2 separate regions of the Homo sapiens genome follow, and region 1 is linked to region 2. The links are contacts of gene promoters, found by promoter capture Hi-C in human tissues and cell types (Jung and others, 2019). All regions are on one chromosome and are shown on one strand. The core of a region is centred on a gene start or on the middle of the fragment in contact, and the rest is flanking DNA. Distances in the headings are between cores, read along the strand shown. Region 1 overlaps NPAS3 (neuronal PAS domain protein 3). Region 2 holds the start of AKAP6 (A-kinase anchoring protein 6).

Region 1 (6,582 bases), core at 86-2,585, 1.4 Mb before region 2:
ATAAAATACCCAGCCTCTGGTATTCTTTCATAGCAACATAGAATGGCCTAAGACAGTAATATTATTAAATAACACCAGACAGCTAATCTTAACATTAACCTAAGTGAGCAACAATGACAAGGAGTCCTGAAAGGCCCACACGCCCACCCGGTCTAGAGTGCAGCCTAATCACATCAGCCATGATTCATAGCCACTCCTATATAATCCTTTCCCCCGAGGCAATTCACAGACCCCACGGCAGGGATGGCGTCATGGTAGTAACTTTCAGCTATTTTCCTACTTTTATTTTATGAACATACCTTCTGCCTTTGCCCTCTTTGGAAATAAAATGGGTAATCTGAAGGCTTCTGTTAAAAGTGGCTTTTCTTCACAAAAATAAATGTACCAATAATAGAAATAAAATGAGGAGGTCAATTACTTGTGATAAACATAAGCTAAGCCAATATATTCTGAAATGCTAAAACCCTACATTTTACAGTTATAATCCAATAAAGATAATATTGGGTATTCACAGTCACTTAGAGTTTACAGAATATTTTCACTCATATTATCTTACATTAACCTCATAATAACTCTACGATGTTTCAGGAGAGGTACTATTATCCTCTTTCAACAGACTTAGGCAAGCTAAATGAGTTCCCCAAAGTCAAATATATATCAAGTGGCAAAACGAGGACTAAAACCTACATCTGTTGATCCTAAGGCCAGGGCTCTGCATCCTACTGAGTTACCCAAAACAACAATATGTGTCTCCATTTGGCTAACTCTCACTGTCCCTATCTAAAGATTTGTCCTGCTGTGTCCATGGTCTCGTCTATGAGACACGTCATGGCATTTACCCCAAATAACTTCAGACAGTCCAGCGAGAAATGTAGATGCTTCAGAAAGGCCCCAGATGGTTTATTCTTTCAGGTGTACCTCACAATAGTCAAACACCATGTCTACAGGCTTTTCAGCTCTACGATTCTATGATTTTTAAGAGGGAAAGGGAGAAGAGAGAGAGAATCTTGAAAGATTTTGTGGTATTTGTTCTTGGGGACTAAGGACAGTAAAGATGCTGTGCTGTTCTCTAAGATGGATTACCTGTTTGTACCTCTGTCTTTCTGGAAATTCAGTGGGATGGGGATGAGGATGCAGATTCCCGGACTGTCATAAAATATTGCCTGCACATTCCATTGAAGCCATGGTCTCCCTCTGACCATGCTACCGCCATAGAGCCAGCACTCTGAGGCTGACTCCAGCCACTATTCTTCCCCTGCTCCTAAGCATTCCACGAACATGAGGTCAGAGAGGAGAGGGAGCTGGGGAAGAAGGGAATGAGGACTTCCTTGGCCTCCCTAGTAGGTGAAATGTGTCTTGAATGTCATCCATTTCCATATTCCTCTCCTCCCTCCTCTTGGCCAAAGGCTCTTACTCTGCTGTGTCTCTTTTGATACCCCGGATTCCAATCACACTTTATTCCATCCCTCACACCCCACCTATTTCCTTAGTGCTCAGTTTTAAAGAATATCAGGGAAAAAAGCCCTCTAATATTAGACAGCAATGCTTTACTGAAGTACAGATCACTGTCTGTCTGTAATGCAGCTTCTTTCCTTCACCCAATTCTTTCTCTAGCCGCCACCCCAGTGGGGTCGCGGGGCACCTCCAAGAGGATGTTTCTCCTGCTTTTCATATCACTGGTTACCTTATTTTCTTAATAGGCTCAGGCATCAACCACTCTAGGGAAACTGATTTTCCTCTTTACAACCATCTGAACAGAGGATTGCTACATCTCAACCCCTGGGAGCTTCTTCTGTGCTGAGGGTCCCTTAAGCCCCTGGCACTGGGAACTGTGGGAGGCAAGCTTCAGGCATGGCTAACTTAGGAAAAGAGAGCTCCATATTTTGTTGCTCTTGTAGCATGGACATTTGCCCATACTTTGGTGGGAGGGAAAAATGAGAGGGAACAAATTTGGGAAATAAAAGCTTAGGAAAAAATAGATCACTTACTTTCCCCAAGAAGTGTTCTCATAGTGTTTGCCTGTTGTAGCTGCTGAAGTCAGATCAAGGAACCTGTAGATTTTTCTGGGTATATATTTTCTTGCTTTGTAGGGTATTGGCTGCATGATCTGCTAAAAGCTGTGACTAAATGAACCCTACAATTTGTATTCCCACAGCCACAAGTGTATTGGCTACTTCTTTTCCTCCCCTCTTTGGCTCTGGAAGGTTCATTACTTACAGTTACTGCAGAATCAATCTGAACTGGCCAAAATCAGTGATGGAATTTATAGCATAATAAATGCCCTGCCGCACAAATGCAGTTACACGTGAAAGGCTTGGGAATGTTCTTTTGAGCAATCCTTCTACATTGTGGAGTGTACGTTTTTTTTTTTTTTTATCAATTTAACAGAATCATCTTAAGCATATTTTGAGAAGTATAATCCTGACAGCTACAGAGCAGATTTTCCCTGAGGCAGGTATTGTTGCAGAAAAACAATATTATTGATAAAAATCTTAGCATATTGGAACATGGAAGGGAAACTAAATACATCTTTTTCATTCTTCACACCAATCCTTTAGAGCTCCATTTTCCAACCTCACATTGCTTTCCACTTTCTCTTTGAATTTTTATTTTTGTAAAAGTGTTTTAACACTTCTCGAAGCACACTAATGAACTGTTCTTTAAGAAGAATCAGCCGTACCAAAGTTGGCTTTGAGAGGCAGGCAGAATTTGAAGTGCACTCAAAAGATAATGCACAGATTGGGGCATCAATGATTTTCCTTTTTAAAAGTCAGTAAGTTAAAAGATTACATTGGTATCTGGCCCATTTTTCTTGCTAAGTGCCCATATTATGGGTGAATCCTGTTTTACAGCATTCTGATACACAGAGAGTTGAACTTGAGCGCGAAACATTGAAAAAAAATATCAGAAAGACAGATGGTAGGCCGTCCTCCCCAAAACTCAATTTCATATTATGCATGTGATTGCTAATAGGCAAGCACTAAAAAACAATTTTCCTTGACGGAGAAGGGCTGATACATTGTCAACATAAAGTTAGACTGCGGTTGCTCCAGTGATCGAAAGCTCGTCTGTGAGTTTGGTCCCATCAAAGTCAGCTTCTTACAACCGTATCAAAATTTATGAATGCATATGTCTATAAAGTGACTGAAAACAACCCATAATGCATGTTTGTTTATTGTGCATCAGCTCTGTGTTGCTTTAGTACATGCAAAAAGCCCAAACAAACACCCAAACCCAACTTGGTCCAGTTCTTTTTTTTAGCTTTTGCACATGAAAAAGAGCCAAGAGTCAATTGGGGATGATGTCCCCTTCTATCCTGAGATCTGACTTAAACAAAAATATCTACTCTTAAATGGCTCTTGCATGGCTTGGGAGTGTACTCCATGGGGTTACACTAGCTTTATGGTGACAGAAGTACGTGCATTTGAGAGCAGTTGAGAGCACTGATTATCTGGAGAAGAAAAAGATGTTTGAGAAAGAAAAAAAATAAAATAAAATGAAGCAGCTGAAAGCAACTCAGCTTATGATCTGCAATACAAAGCACCAAAGTTTCATATTATATTTTATAGAAAGGTAAAGCCTATGCAGATGCTGCAAAAATATTTAGAAAGAAAGGGAGAGGTTTTCTTTGTTTTCTTTGTGAAAATTATGTTTTTTAAAAAGTAATCATTCAATCCAGGAATATAAAGGTTTATTTTTTGGGGAGAAGGAGAGAAAGGGGTGAAATTTTGCTCCTATTGAAAATCTAGTAGTCATATACTGTATTTGATTTTTTTAAAAAACACATAACTTTGAATATTTGCATGGTTATGAAACTCATATTTTATGTCATCACTTACTGTTCACTTGAGAACTGTTGTTTTAATCGCAGATCACTTGTAACTGATGTGACATGCACAGATCTTACTGGGACAAAGGGATTGGGTACTCAGACAACACTGTTTACAAAGGTTGCTATAATTAGTAGAAATTCTGAATAGTCAACCAAAATCAGAATTAAGTGAGTTGAAGAACAAATAAAATTTTTCTAATGAGAGATAATTATCATCTTGAAAGGTCAGGGGTTTTACTAAATGGTATATTCAAGGGAAACTGTGGGCGCCTGAAATGTAGGTTTTGCTTATATTTTACCAAATACAGAGACATTTCCAATAATCTAGATACCTAATGGTGTGTAGACCAAGTGCTAAGTGATTGAGGTCTATGCAGTGCTTTGTATCTCTGATGCATTTTGCAATGCCAGCTTTCAATGCATACAGGTCTTAGTTTTTTTTCCCTTGAGTTACTGGTTCTAGGATCATATTGCTCTTCTCCAAATGTCTATTTATATGAGCAATGTGAGATTAAGGGGAAAAAGTCCCTGCACTCATGTTGGCAGAATGGTAGAAGGAAAAACGAATGGAGAAAATTCCAAAAGGAATGATTTAATGACTTGTTTAAATCTATATACTTACTCCCTTACCTAATAGGCTGAGAGCAACCTTCAAGTTCTTCTTGTTAGAAAATAATGCTCTTTCTCTTACAATGATTCCAAAAAATTTTGTTGACATGAAACACTCTTAATCTTCATCCTTGTGACCCCAAACACTGATTAGCCCATGGGGCTAGCATTACACCACATGAACGTTCCTACTCTTGTCTACATATGCCAGCTCAGCTTAGATATCTTTATTCCTGATACCCAGATTTCTTTCTGCTCACTACACTTGATGCCTTCATCTCTTTATTGATACCATTCCCTCTGTTTAGAGTTCCCTTCCTTCATATCTCTGTAGGTGAGCCTATCCCTTAAGAGCTGGTTAACATGATGCTGTCTTTGAGATCCTCTCCTTTTATACCAGACAGAATCATTTGCTTTATCCCGTTGCCCTTGGAACATACCTCTATTATAGCACATATCACATTATCTCATTATCATTTCTTTGTGTGCCTGCCTAACTCTAGACTCTGCTCTCTGGATCAAGGACTCTGTTTTATCCATCTTTGTCTTCCCAGTACCCAGTACAGTGTATAATACACAACAGGTACACAATCAGTATTGACCACATGATTGAGTGAAATCAATTCCTAAATACTTTGAACAAAGGGTGGTGTTGAAGAATGAAAGTTATAGATCATTCTTGGTTACACTAGACTTCTCTTTTGTTTTCTCAGGTTATTACAAACTGAGAAAGCATGTTTTCAAAAAACTTTCCACTATGTAGATGTAAACAAAGCTTTGGGGAAAAAAACTACATTCTAAAACTCTAGTTAGAATACGTAAAATTAGTTATTTCATATCAGTCTGGAAGGAACTGAAGTAGATAAGCTCTAGGGTCAGCATATGCCTCGTTCAGCTTTCTTTAAAAGCATGGGGAGTAATAAATCTCTCCATTTTATCTTCAGTGAAATAATACTGCTGAAATATCACCTCATTTTTGATGTCAGTGATGATTTCTTCTACCTCTATGATGTCAAAAGGGAATTATTATTATTAGAATGACAGAGTACTAATGATGCTGTAAGAAAAAAAAAAAAAGGAATAGCTGAAATCATCATAACCCAAGCATCCAACATATCCCTTCTTGACAACGCCTCACTGTTTGGTACTTTGAATGGAGTCACTCTGCAATATCACAGCTGTATAAATTTTTTTTCTAAGCAGGAAGTAAATCAAGAGCAGGTGCCTATGAATTTTCACTAGCAGAGTACCATCCTTAAAAAATTTTTTAGGACTGGATGGCATGATTAAGATGTGTGATTTATGAATCCAAGAGAGAAAAGATTCTTTGGGGGCCAAAGTGTTTCCTGGGCTCTTGTGACACATCTCCACTGATGTTTTCCCCAAGAAGAGGACCACTGTGTGGAGAGGAAGATTGGACAATGGCCTCTCTAGGCTTTGCAATCTGTCAGCACTCTGTGGGACAGTGATGGTATGGTGTGTTGGTTCTGGGCTTCACTCCCTTTTTCACTTACTGAGTGCTCTGCATCAATCTGTGTCTACTTCAGGGTTCTCGGAGTGCATGAGAACCTGGAGGTGCTACGCAGTGCCACCTTTTTGTCCTAGAGATCAAATCCACAGAGCTTAACAGTCCTCCGCTGTGCCAAGGGGCTTGGGGTCTGGCCACTATGAGTTGTTGGGCAAATTGCATCACTCTCTATATCATTTCAGTATAAAGAAAAGACACACTTCATAGAGAAGATAGTAATTCATAATAAAACATTCAAGAATATTTTACATTCCTATTATATTTTTCTTTGAGGAGTTTGACAATTATAATATTGTTAATTTCACTCATCACAGAAGAGCATTTACCCAAGACTCAACTGCCTATGGGGCTATTCTAGGCAGGTTAAACATTTCAGGTCCCTAAAACTGGAAACGTACACCCATTTCAGACAACACTGGCCTAGGTATTCACCAATAAGCCAACTGCAAATAATTAAAGAAGATAGATAACTTTAAAAAGAACATGATGCTGTGTGTTATTTGGCATAAACAGAGGGGTGAATCTATATTGTGTTTAAAGTTAGTGAGGAAAAGAAATTTGCCACTGTTTATGGAATGAGGCAAAGGAGTATTTCTCTCTAATCACTATTACT
Region 2 (6,587 bases), core at 2,213-4,712:
CAGATTACACTTTCCAGACTGTGAGAGAAGTTTCTGCTTCTGTTCTCAACACCAGGTTGAGAACAGAACCTGGTGCAACAGCAGGGAATACAAACATCTTAAAGTTAACAAAGCACCACAAATATAGCTGATAAGACAGGTTTATAACAAAGCTGAATCATTACTGACTCAGGTAAGACCTGCTTTGAGTGCAACTCCATCATGCCCACAATTATTGATGTAACATTTTCCATACAGAGATCCTGCTAGAAAGTTATATCAAGCAAGGGCAGTGGCAAAAGTCTAAGCATCAACTCTTCATTACTTAAATCTCTGGGTACAAAGTAAATATTCACATCTGATCAAGATTCATGCTCATCCTTACAGTGAAATCAACCTTAGTGTTGCAAATGACATTTCATTCTACATATGAAATCTGATTTTCCAATTAGAATGAGGAGGGGTGGGGTACGTGTGATAGAGTATAGATGACTGATCTGTATGGTATATACAGTAAAGATGTCATAAAACTGAGATGGCCGTGGGTAAGCATGTGTGCTGCATAGCCAGATCGCAATGGTTTGGAATCCTGGCCCAATCACTTATTAACTACATAACCTTAGCCAAGTTTATTCGCCTGGCTAAGGACTGGTTTTTGCAAAATGTGAATAATAACACCTAATCCTATAAAGTGAGATTATTACTCTCTACTTCATAATAATAATAAGGGCTAAATAAGATATACACAAAACTTAATTCAGTACTGATACACAGTAAGAACTGAATAAATGATAGCTATGATTGTTATTATGATTATTATTTTTATCATCCCTATGCGGCCTAGTTATCGGCAAAGAATTAACTTCTTTGTAACTTTGTAATGTATTTGTGAAAGCCATGACCAAAAGTATAGAGGACATTAACTTCTTGTGAGGCTTCCATGGCCTAAACTCTGTCCAATAAACATGGTCTTGATGATCTATCATTACTGTGAAACAAAATTCCTTAAACTGTAGAAAGTTTCAGTGAGGCACCAATAAATACAGCCATAGAGAAATCTCTCCCTTCCCCTATACACACACACACACCATCTACCCCTTGGGGATATATTAAAACTAAGACAACTGAAATAGCCTTAGCCAGTAATTAAGACATGCAGCTAATCAGAGAGCAGCGCAGGCTGTGGCCCTCTACAAAGAAACGAAGAAACAAAACATTAGGATGATAGCTCTCATTACCAGGGCTTTGTTCTCCTGGAGCAAAAAGAGCACAAAAGCATAAAGTTGGAGAACTGTAATTGCATTTTGAACATTTGCGGGGGGAAAAATTACAGGGTTGTCTGAACCGGGAGGATGTTCCACTAGATAACTGCGTCAGTCCACACCCACCAGCGCCCTTCCCCACCCTCAAAGCATGACTCCACTTTTTCTAACACTGCCCTTAAGGAATCTAGCTTTTGTGACTTCCAGTAATTGAACAAATCAACCATGATGAAGCAGCTGAAGAGCACTTTAAACAAAAGAGACAAGAATTAAGCAAACAGAAAACTCATTACAATGCTGCCTTTTGCTTTTTTTTACTCCTAGAAATTCATGTTACCAAACAAGTCTTTCTTCATTGCTCTTCTTCAGAAATAATACTTTAAGAAAATTCTAAAAGGCACTAAGTGATTTTATCCAGATTTATAATCTAGCTACAAGACATACTTTCCCTTCCCCCATCACCATCTAGCACTCTTCCCTGTCACCTTAGAGCTTTCGACTTAGATGTGTTCACACCCAGCAGTCCCAGCAGAGCTTTCTGCTCACATTATATGACATAAAAAAGCAGGCAATGAACAATTCATGCTTCTAAGTGCTTGCGATAAAGCCAGGCTGAGCTGACCTCTCCCATCCTATACAGCTGCATGTCAGAAACATAAGCTTAAAGGACTGAGAGTAGCAAGCATGTGCGTGATGTGGTATAAACAAACAAATTAAAACCTGAGGCCTTTCCTCTGGCTGGTGCCTAATGGGACTAGCATACTTAACTCTGTGCAAAAAAAAAAAAAAAAAAAAAAAAAAAAAATCACTCCAAGCTAGCTAAAGGTATTGCTTTTCCTGCTTTCCATGATATATCTCTTTAGCCCCAATAAACAGACTAAAAGAAGAGGAATTCAATGGTTGCCATTCTTTCGTGTAAGACTTTTTGAGTAAAAACTATCAATTTGGCAGCATTAAGCCACAAGACCACTCCCTGATTCTAAGTGGACATATTGATCAATTGAACTGACATGTGCCTCCTCCTTTCTCTCCCCTAGTAGCAATCAGCTGTACCAGGGAAATCCATTTCATTTCCCAAAACAAAAGGCAACATTCTGCTCCTTATCTGACACTGTCAGACTAATTTTTTAGAAAATAATAATAATAATAAAGATGCCTAAAAACAGAGCTAGGAGTTGAAATGAAAATGATACGTGTTTAGAGTTTTGGAATTGAGTTGAGGTTATGACTGAGTCCAGAGGTCTGTAATCCCTACAACCACTGAGGACCCTGATATTTATTCATCATACCCAGATTTTTGTTAAAGTTAAGCAAGGGATGGCAACACCACTGCCACTTCAGAGGCTCTCCCAGGGTTACCCTTCACTGCAACTGCCGCAGAGAGGAGACTTGTTCCTTTCTCAGTTACAAGTCAGCCTGCAAACAACTCCAGCTATTTCAGAGACTAGCTAGAGATGGAAAAATATGTGGCAGTCTTTCAACTAACTCTGAAGGACATGGGTTGAAGAACTACCATATAGATCAAAAGGCTCAAATAATTTCATTTGGTTTAGGTTTTTATGCTTTTAATAAATTCTGTCTTGAATATGCAAGAGATCCCCTTTCACATCAGGGTTATGTCAAATGCTTATTCAGCATTTGTTCCTTGCCATGAAGAAACTGAAACCCAACCGAGGTAAATAATGAATTTCATACTGCAAATCACTGAATATTTCATAATTCACAAGAGCAAAGAGGGGGCCAATTAGCTCTGCCTCCCAAAAAGAAATCTATATTTTTACAATGCTTAAATACTGTTAACTACTCATTTTAAAGCTTATCTGGGGTTTTGCAATTGAAAAATCATCTTATGTTTATGAAAAATTCTGTAAGAACACTTAAAAATAACAGACAGAGCTGGAGCAAGAATAATTCTACATATTTTAATTCCTATATGACTCTTACAGGCCTTTGTCTTAACCCGGCAGCCTGAAAAACGATTTAGGTAAAACAGCCCTTCTTTCCCCAGTCCATTTTAAGCAGAGACAACATCCCCCAATCTCCGCCTTAGCAGACACCGACTAACCAACAAAACAGCCGTGCAATTAAGGCCCAGACATTTAACACTCACCATCTCCTGATCCCACCGTCTTCTTTTGATGTTTACAGCACATCTGTAGGATGCAATACTAGGAGATGCCTTGTTTGACCTGCTGCATGATGCTGTGACATCAGTTCAGATGATGCAGCTCATTATGGGAAAGACTGCTGTTGCTATGGCAACTGGGATGTGCTAGGAATCCTTGCTGCATTTCCAGTGGAGCCTGAGACAATACGGAAGCCCTGTAAGAAACAGACGATATGCAAAATTTAGACCAAAGGAAGAGGATTCCTCATTGGACTAAAATCCATAGGTTTAAAAGGGATTTCCCTGAAAGCATTTTGGAAAAAACAAAAATTATCTCCCCCTTTGTTGTTATACATTTAGAAAAAAAAGGTGGGAGGAGAAAATAGAATTAGTACTAAGCAAATAAAAACTGAAATGTACAATGTTTCCTTATTAGACAATTTGATCACTTTTTCCTCCCTGGTCAGCACTGGGATAGCTTTTTAAAAGTTATTAAAAAGAATTTTTGCTCATCTGTCAAAGACCAAAAGAACAAAACAGCGAGCACAAAAATAATTAAAAATGGAATATAAACAGCTGACCAAATGACTCTAACTCTCAAGTAAACAAGTTTTAATTCTCAAAACATGGGCAAACCCTTGGCCAATGAAGTCTGTCCTGGTTATTTTCCCTGATGAACACCAACCCACAGAACCTTCCCATGCAGAATAAACCCAGCTTTCACCTGGTCATCAGATAGGCAGCAAAGGGAAGTTTGGAATCTAGAGGGGCACAACACACCACCCTCAACTTCTACTGACCCTTCCTTTGGCCTGCAGGGAACCCCTCCTTCTCATGGCCAAAACGCATGTGAGTCTTTTCTGGGATCAAACCTAGTGGTTGGAACAAGTAGCAGACCTGCTAGAAACTTCCTAAATCGTTGGCATTCCAAACATTGGGGTCTGTTTTCTTCTTTTCTGAACAATAAAACTGCCTACCACACAGATTATTTGTGCCCCTCCCCAACCCCAAAAGCTGGAACTGTGTGAAAAGCCACATTTAAACAAGACACGGTAAGGCATTTCTCCAGTTGGTAAAAGAAAAGCAAATCTAAAGCAATCACTTCTTTCCAGTCCTGAGCAGAAATCAACGTCATGTGGTGAGAACTGGGGAGAAGGAGATATGGACAGAGCAGCCTATGTTTTGCATATTTAATATTTGCAGGCCATTGATAGAGAAAAGCAGAATCAAGTTGACCTGTATCCACTCCGTCTTCACAACTCTGAAAAAGAACAACATTCCAAAAGCTTAAAACATGAGACAATTATGTTGTCTCCTCCTGCTTGAGATTTTAAAATGGCACTGTTAACCACCAGCATAGGCGGTGTGGGATGAGTGGCAGAAGGAATTCAGGCAGTGTCTCTGTAAACAGGAGCTAATAAAATGCCTGAGAAGTGCCAATATCCCAGCAGCGTGCACCATCAGCCTCGCACAGAGCAACCCTGCCCTAGATGGGAAGACAGACTTGTTCTTGCTTCATCTAGAGAGGAATTAAGAGACCAAAAGCAGGAGGTGAATCTGCCTGCTTAGGTCCTTTGTGGCATCAGCAGAGCCTGACTCCCTCCCTTTATCTTAGACCTCAGACCACATGCCACACACAAGGGGAGAAGTAGCAGGCAGCTACCCCAGTACAAAGAGTACAGATCTGAGAGTCAGGAAACCCAACTGTAAATGTCAGGTCCTCCTAGAGCATCTGTGTGATATCAGGCCAATTGATTAACTTCTTGGGGCCTCAAGTTTTTCATCTGCAGAGATGATTGATTTAGCTAATAACCATAGTTTTCAGGTTTTTCATTAGTAATATAACCTTTCTTTTAATGATACAGATCAAAGCTGGACTGCCTTGGTTGAGGCAAGATAAGAAGCCCAGAGCCCAGACTGATGAGCCATTCTCAACCACTGCCTCCAACCTCATTTGCTGTAAGCTGACTCTTTAAGATACCTCTGAAGAACCCTTCAGTCTCTGGAGAAGATAAAGAGACATGGACCTATTACAGAACAAGATTAGTCTTTCCAGAGCTGAAATCCACATGCTATAAAGAGGAGAGGACAGGGTGGGAGCAGGTGTTCCAGATTTGAATATGGCTTCTCAAGATGGTAAGAATCTTGTTAATCTTTTTTGCCAGAAGCAAGTCAATCATTTGATGGGAAGAAATGGATGGCTCATCAAACCTGAGGCCAGGTCAAACTTTTAGCAACCTGGACTAGCTAAATTGCTTGCCCACAAAATGGCACTCACCAATGAAACGGAAGTAGAAGTGGAAACCATCAACTCCAAAGGTGGCTAAGACCAAGTGTCTCTTCTTCATGTTTTCCTGTCCTGCTAGCTGGATGCAAAGAATCCAGTGGAACTCTGAAGCCCAGAAAGATAATGGCCACACATTGTGGATGGAGCCTGGGTCCCTGAATGACTGCATGGAGCTCAACCATCCTCTCCCAACTACCTATTGACCTACACTGGGCTGCAATGAGTGAGAAACAAACACCACCAAGATTTTGGGGTAGTTTATTCTGAACAAATTATCCATTTATAGATAAAATTATAATTTAATAAAATATAAATTTTCTAACAAGATTATATTATATATCATTATTTATGATAAAGTGACAGTGTTAAAAACATGTTCCTTTATTGCAGACTTTCTTTTTTTATTTTATATTACTTTAAGTCCTGGGATACATGTGCAGAACATGCAGGTTTGTTACATAGGTATACATGTGCCATGGTGGTTTGCTGCACCTATCAACCCATCATCTAGGCTGTAAGCCCTGCATGAATTCGCTATTTGTCCTAATGCTCTCCCTCACCTTGCCCACAACCCCCCGAAGGGCCCTGGTGTATGGTGTTCCCCTCCCTGTGTCCATGTGGTCTCATTGTTCAAATCCCATTTATGAGTGATAACATGCAGTGTTTGATTTCCTGTTCCTGTGTTAGTCTGATGAGAATGATGGCTTCCAGCTTCATTCTTTTTTATGGCTGCATAGTATTCCATGGTGTACATGTGCAACATTTTCTTTATCCAGACTATCATCGATGGGCATTTGGGTTGGTTCCAAGTCTTTGCTATTGTAAATAGTGCTGCAATAAACATACATGTGCATGTGTCTTTATAGTAGAATGATTTATAATCCTTTGGGTATATACCCAGTAATGGGATTGCTAGGTCAAATACTATTTCTGGTTCTAGATCCTTGAGGAA

Evidence for each region. The method cuts DNA at HindIII sites, captures the fragments that hold promoters and counts their contacts. A contact is called where the count stands out against the background at its distance.
Region 1: a contact is called between a fragment that was not itself captured here and the fragment with the promoter of AKAP6 in region 2, in 1 of the 25 tissues and cell types used here (mesenchymal stem cells).

Annotation. Positions count from the first base shown.
Region 1 is chr14:33,749,152-33,755,733 of GRCh38, reverse strand. The region is part of intron 7 of NPAS3 (neuronal PAS domain protein 3); the gene reads right to left. Among named protein-coding and RNA genes, the nearest start is that of SNORA89, 44 kb to the right of the region's middle. The HindIII fragment of the contact is 4,510 bases long and covers 1-3,590 here.
Region 2 is chr14:32,326,173-32,332,759 of GRCh38, reverse strand. AKAP6 (A-kinase anchoring protein 6) reads right to left here and starts at 3,462. Exons shown (of 14, transcript NM_004274.5): 1 at 3,352-3,462. RefSeq lists an enhancer at 1,203-1,497. The HindIII fragment of the contact is 5,497 bases long and covers 2,480-6,587 here.